2 separate regions of the Homo sapiens genome follow, and region 2 is linked to region 1. Evidence: promoter capture Hi-C in 16 types of primary human blood cells and fetal thymus (Javierre and others, 2016). All regions are on one chromosome and are shown on one strand. Each heading gives the region's core, a stretch centred on a gene start or on the middle of the fragment in contact. The rest is flanking DNA. Distances are from core to core; before and after follow the strand shown.

Region 1 (3,129 bases), core at 395-2,894:
ATCAAAACTCTTCTTGGAAACAGTAGGAACATCTGAGCCAGTAATTAACAAACGTTGATTGCCAAGGAAATTCAAACCAAGGTTTAATAAGGAAGGAATTCTTGTAAAAATAGACATAATAGCTATATGTAAAAATAAGAATATCTCTCATGTATAAGGAATTTTTATGTTTTGTGTAGAATTCTAGAGAGTGAAAGTTATGAGTACTGATATATGATTAGTATGTTGAAGCTATTACAATATGAAGTTTGTCTGAAAATAGACTAGGCTATCCTGTGAGGTGAAGAGTTTCCTGTAGTTAGGGGTATTTAAGCCACATCAAATTGTGGGTCGATTGGGTGGTCTAGACCCTTCCTCCTCAAGTGTAGTACCATCTGGGAGTCATTAGAAGGGTAGAATTTCAGGTTTCACCCCATTCCTGGTGAATCAGTATCTACAACTTAACAAGATCCATGGATGATCTGTATGCACATTATGTCTGAGAAATAGTGCTCCAGTTGACATCTAATGAATTTTCGTATTATTTTTATACTTCTTATAGGATTGTGTTGTGTTGTAAAATTTAAATAACAGTCTAGAATAGAAGTTGGGTAAATACATGAGCTTTACCCCACTTTCCATTGTAAAGTCGCTAACTGAATTAAATACTTCCCTCAGAAACAAAGATTGTTTCTTGGATATTGTAGTTAATTTTAAGTGAACAGTTATTTACATACTAGTTCTTTGTTAACTTTGGACTCTTGGCGTTACACAAAAGTAAAACACGTCTTTTGGCTTTCGTGTAGCACACTCAGAATATTTTCAGTAACCCCCAAAATATATTCAGTGTTTAATCCTCCAATTCCTTCATGCATGTCCTCTTCATTTTCACCAAACCCAGCAGGATTCGTGACTCTCCCTCACAGAAACGTTCCCTTTCTGCTCAGAGTAGGTACTGATTTTGTCTCCTGCTTCCTCAGTCTGTATGAATGGACAGCAGCAACGGAAAGAAAAGAGGGTAGGTAAAGGGAGGTGGAGATATAAGGGGGACTGGAGCGCGATGGAGAGACCAGACTCTGCTCAAAGCTAAAATTTACTCGGGCAGGGAATACTTAACATACAATTCCCATTACCAAAACAATATGAATGAAGAAGAACTGAAGAGGTAATGAGAAATGACAGATGCCGCCACACCCTAGATTGGCTCAGGTCCCTACAACCATGACTACCATGCCCTGGCCCAGTGGGAAGAAAGCTGCTTAAAGAAATGACAAGCACAGAAGACCGGGGAGCCAAAAGGTGCCCAAGTCCGTTCCCATCCCCACCAGCGCAGGCTGACACAAGCGAAGGCTGTAGAGCCCATTGTGTGAAAGAAGCCCAGGCGGGGAAGCGTGTGCCCCCTTCCCACTTTGCCCATCCCTGGCCCTCGCCTTCGCAGGGGGCACTGGGAGCAGAGCGAGCCTCGGCAGCCCGGGAGCGGCTCTGGGGGAGACGAGTGTATCCGCGGGCGCGTGTGCGTGAGGAGGAGAGCAAAGACGTGATTACTTCAGAATTTATTTAAGGGCCGGTGGAAACCACTGCAGCAGCTTCCAGGGGAAGCCCTTGTTCCAGAGGAAGAGGAGGTGGTGGCTGCCAAGGAGGAGGAGGGGAGGAGACGGAGGAGGAGGAGTAGCAGCCACCGCACGAGGCAAGTGAGGAGAGAAGATGCTGTAGCGTCCTCACCGGCTGCCAGCAGGTTGGTTCTTCCGGCCAATTGAAGCAAGCAAAGAGGCTTGCAGAAAGGCCGGGAGGAGAAAAATGGGTGTGTGTGCTGTGGCGGCGGGGGGGCGGCGGGGGGGAGGGAAGGGGGGCCGGGGGACGGCGTGGGGTGATGTTTGCCTTTCCAGAGAAAAAGCGCCTCCTTTAAGTGAAACGAGACACGGGAGCGCGCGGAAACAGGCTGGGGGCCAGGAGGAGACCTGTCCTGCTTTTTGCATCCCTAGGGACTCGTTTTCCTTTAGGTTTCTAACTCCCAGGGTTAGCCTTAAACTCCAGAGGGGCTCCAGGAGGGGAGACTGGGTGGAGAACTTCTCTCCCAGATACTTCTCACGCCTTTTCTCCAAGCTTTCTTTTGGAGGGACGCCCCACACACCCCGGGTGGCCCGGGCGCGGAGGGGGAGCGGCGCCGCGTGGTTAAGTTTCTGAAAGTCAAACCCAGTCCCCGGTCTCCGGTCTCCGCCCCGGGGCTCCAGCTGCACGCGGGGAGCTGCGGCTGTTCTGGCAAAGGGGCCGCGGCTGCTTTAAGAGCCGCCTCCCCCTCTCCTCCTTTGACAATGGTCTGAACCGAGCTTTGCTTCCCAAAGCAAAATTTGTAATATGCCATTTTTCCGATGGACGCTTCTCCTTTTGGCTGCTGACGGAGCCACGGGAAGATGCCGAGCTCCTGCCACGCCACCGGGCCGGGGCACGTTCCGGGAGGGCGCCGGGGCACGCGTGTGTCTGAGCTGCCTTTCTCCTCCCGTTGCTAGGGAAATGGTCCAGGAGTGCTGGGTGTGAGCCTCCCTTCTCCTCAAGCCGGAGACTGCGGTTGTCATTGATCAATTGAAGAAGCAAGGACCCGAAATCACAGACATTAGGTACAGAAGCTGTCTTTGAGTTTTACTGTCTCCTTTCGCTGTATTTTTTGACCACCTCCCCGGCCCCACCCCGCCCCCAGGGAAGATGAGATGCAAATTCCTCCTTGTTGATTACCGTTAGGTGCCTTTTGCTTTCACCTCATCCTCTCCATCTCCTATCTCTCTACCTCCTGCCTACTTGGCTGTGTCCTGTTGGGCAGGATGAACAATTTTAGTGTGGAAATGATGAAGTCAACTTCTTCAAGGTGGTGGGGGGTGTGGCTGAGAGATAACTGTCCAGTAGTGTGGGTTGAGCTGGCTCTGGCTGTCCGTAAATGCACTAGGGTAAAGAAAGTGTAAAATGTGTCCATTAAAGGTGATAATCATATTTCCCGAGGACAGAGGCTTTCAAAGAGTTAAATAGGAGGGAGAATATTCATGTAATGTAATCAGACAATGGCTAGGATTTCTCTCACTGAATTACTCCTTGTAGGTTAACTGAGGTGGAGCTGGGATGGTTCTTAAGACTAAATGTTTTCAGAAGAAACTCACTATG
Region 2 (3,384 bases), core at 364-2,863, 360 kb before region 1:
TGTTGAGCCTGCACTACATTCAGATTCTCCTGTTGTTCAATTCTGCTTCTTCCTTTTCCCTTCCACCGGTGTAGATCCCAAATAAACACTTTGTACACTAAACTCTGTCTTAGAATCGGCTTCCTGGAGAAAGCAAATTTCTGCATTATGTTTTCTTTGAATCCTGTTATATAAGAAAGGGAGGGAAGAGAAATCTGTTTAATTTTTTGTATATTAAGATATAATGTATATGCAATGAAATTCAGTGATCCTATGTGTACAGTGTGATCAGTTTTGACACATTTATACACTCAGGTAACCTATACCACTATCAAGATACAGAGCATTTCCATCAACCAAGAACGTTTCCTCTTGTCCCTTCCCAGTGATTTTCCCCATCTGGCTTACTGATTTCTGATCAAACAGACACAATCAGAAATGATAAGAAGGATATTACCACTGACCCCACAGAAATACAAACAACCATCAGAGATTACTGTAAACACCTCTATGCACATAAACTAGAAAATCTGGAAGAAATGGATAATTTCCTGGACACAAAACATCCTCCCAAGACTGAACCAGGAAGAAACTAAATTCCTGAATACACCAATAATGAGTTCTGAAATTGAGGCAGTAATAAATAGCCTTCCAGTCAAAAAAAGCCCAGCACCAGACAGATTTACAGCTGAATTTTACCAGAGGTACAAAGAAGAGCTGGTACCATTTCTACTGAAACTATTCCAAAAATGGAAAAGGATGGACTCCTACCGAACTCATTTTATGAGGCCAGCATCATTCTGATACTAAAACCTGGCGGAGGTACAACAACAACAAAAAACTTCAGGCCAATCTTTAAGTCTTAAAGAGACTGCCAAGCAGTTTTCCAAAGTGGTACTATTTTTCATTTTCTTTTTTTTGTATTTATTTATTTATTTATTCATTTATTTTTTGAGACAGAGTCTCGCTCTGTCGCCCAGGCTGGAGGGCCGTGGCGATATCTCGGCTCACTGCAAGCTCCGCCTCCCGGGTTCACGCCATTCTCCTGCCTCAGCCTCCCGAGTAGCTGGGGCTACAGGCGCCCGCCACTACGCCCGGCTAATTTTTTGTATTTTTAGTAGAGACGGGGTTTCACCGTTTTAGCCGGGATGGTCTCGATCTCCTGACCTCGTGATCCGCCCGCCTCGGCCTCCCAAAGTGCTGGAATTAAACAGGCGTGGCCACCGCGCCCAGCCCTATTTTTCATTTCACCAGCAATGTTGGGGGGGTTCTGGTGGCTTTCCAACATTTGATATTGTTAATACCTTTAATTTTAACTGCATTAGTGGAAGTATACTGGTATCTTTAGTGGTTTTGATTTACATATAACTTATATCTAATAATGTTGAACACTTTCCATGTGTATTGGCCTTTTGTGTATGTTCTTGTCTGAAGTGTCTGCTCATATTTTTTGCCCATTTAAAAAATTAGAATTTTGTTCTTAATATTTTTTAAAGACAGACAATTCAATTTTTAAATGGTCAAAAAATATATATCTATATTCTGGATGTGAGTAATATGTCAAATAAAGGTATTAAAAAATTTTCCCCCAGTCTGTAATTCCTCTGCTTATTCTCTTAATGGATTTTAATAAGCAGAAGTTTTAAAATGTTGTTAGTGTTCAATTTACCAATTTTCCTTTATGGTTAGTGTGCTCTCTGTGTCTTTTAAAAAGGCACTTTTATTTTGAATTTTCTAACATACACAGTAAAATTAATTCTAGCTGATATACTGTTTCATGGTAACAAATTGTTTGAAAATCTGTCCATTTTTAGTTTAAAATAAATATTGGTGTTCTTTAAATCTTTCTTTGATTTTCTTAACATTTTAAGAAATCAATTGCTAAGTAATACATGTAAATTCAAATTTTAAGCGTATTTCATATCATTAAGCCTCATAAAATGTGTGTAGCATACTTAAATAACTAACCAATGGATTTTACTACTTGTATAACTACTTGAGTGCTATCTACATCATCAGTGTTTTAGAAATTTTCATGAATGATATACTTTATTTTATTGTTAGCCTTTCCCTATAATATAAATGCAAATAGATTTTCAATATTATACACTCCTTCATAATGGCAATGTGTGTGTATGCGTGTGTTTATGTATTTTGAGAACTCCACTGAAGAGGAGCTTTTCAAACAATTAATTTATTTTTTCATACAATGGTAAAAAAGGAAATCAGACTGTCTAAAATTATGTTCTTCAAATAAGAGAAGCAAGAAACTTGTGTTCATTTTAACATTATGCAGAAGAAATCTGTTTACATGCTAAAAATAGAAGGCATGGTATTTAGCCGGATAATGTTTTCCTTTGATTTAATATTCAACACTTGCATTTGTGCTGAAATGGGAAACACAACAGTTATTAGATCTAACCACCGAGTTTACCATTATGAATTAATTACAAGGTGACATCTATGGCTGATTCTTAAGAACACATATAAAAATCTTTTCCTTATGTCTCATTTTGCAATTTTTAAAAAATTTTAAATATATATTTTGATGGTGAATAGCTTATTTACACCAATTTTTTTCTGTTTTTTTTTTTTTTCTTTTGACCATTGTTTGTTAAACTTACCTGTTTTCTCTCTTTTGTTAAGTTCAAATCCTGGTTTCACTACATATGAGCTATGTGAATGTAAGCAATTACTTAGTATGTGGTATTGATATAATAATACTATATAACTTACAAAGTTATTGGGAAAGTTAATGAAATTATGCATGTAACTAGCTTAAAATAGAACCTAGGGCATTGGGTAAGCATTAAATAAACGTTAACTATTGTTACTAGTATTACATATGCATACATATATTTATAACATATCTATCAGTTATATTTATTTTATGGAAAAATTGATATGTATATAAAATATATAAATATGTGTACATGTATTTAGTGTGTGTGTGTGTGTGTGTGTGTGTGTGTGTATATATATATATATATATATATATATATATATATATATATATATATATGTAAATACAAGCATACCAAAGAGATGTTTTCGGTTTGGTTCCAGACCACCTGAACAAAACAAAGCATAAAAAACCAAAGTTTTTGGTTTTCCAGTACACGTAAAAGTTATGTTTACACTGTGTACTGTAGTTCATTAAGTGTGTGATAGGAAATGTCTAAAAAGTGTACATACCTTAGTTTAAAAATACACTATTGCTAAAAAAAAAAATGCTAACAATCACCTGAACCTTCATCGTGTTGCAACCCTTTTGCTAGTGGAGAGTCTTGCCTCCATGTTACTGGCTGCCGACTGAGCAGGGTGGTGCTGGCTGAAGGTTGGGGTGGTTGTGGTAATTTCTTAAAATAATACAATGAAGTTTGCCACATCAATTGACTCTTCCAT

Evidence for each region. Contacts are between HindIII fragments. The CHiCAGO score rates a contact against its expected background, and 5 or more counts as called.
Region 2: a contact is called between a fragment that was not itself captured here and the fragment with the promoter of PPFIA2 in region 1, in 1 of 17 cell types (neutrophils). The highest score is 6.3, in neutrophils.

What each region holds. Positions count from the first base shown.
Region 1 is chr12:81,757,865-81,760,993 of GRCh38, reverse strand. It overlaps PPFIA2 (PPFI scaffold protein A2), which reads left to right and starts at 1,644. Exons shown (of 33, transcript NM_003625.5): 1 at 1,644-1,714; 2 at 2,487-2,594. RefSeq lists an enhancer at 1,846-2,784. The HindIII fragment of the contact is 5,625 bases long and covers 1-2,084 here.
Region 2 is chr12:82,112,691-82,116,074 of GRCh38, reverse strand. No RefSeq gene overlaps it. Among named protein-coding and RNA genes, the nearest start is that of LINC02426, 160 kb to the right of the region's middle. The HindIII fragment of the contact is 9,705 bases long and covers 1-3,384 here.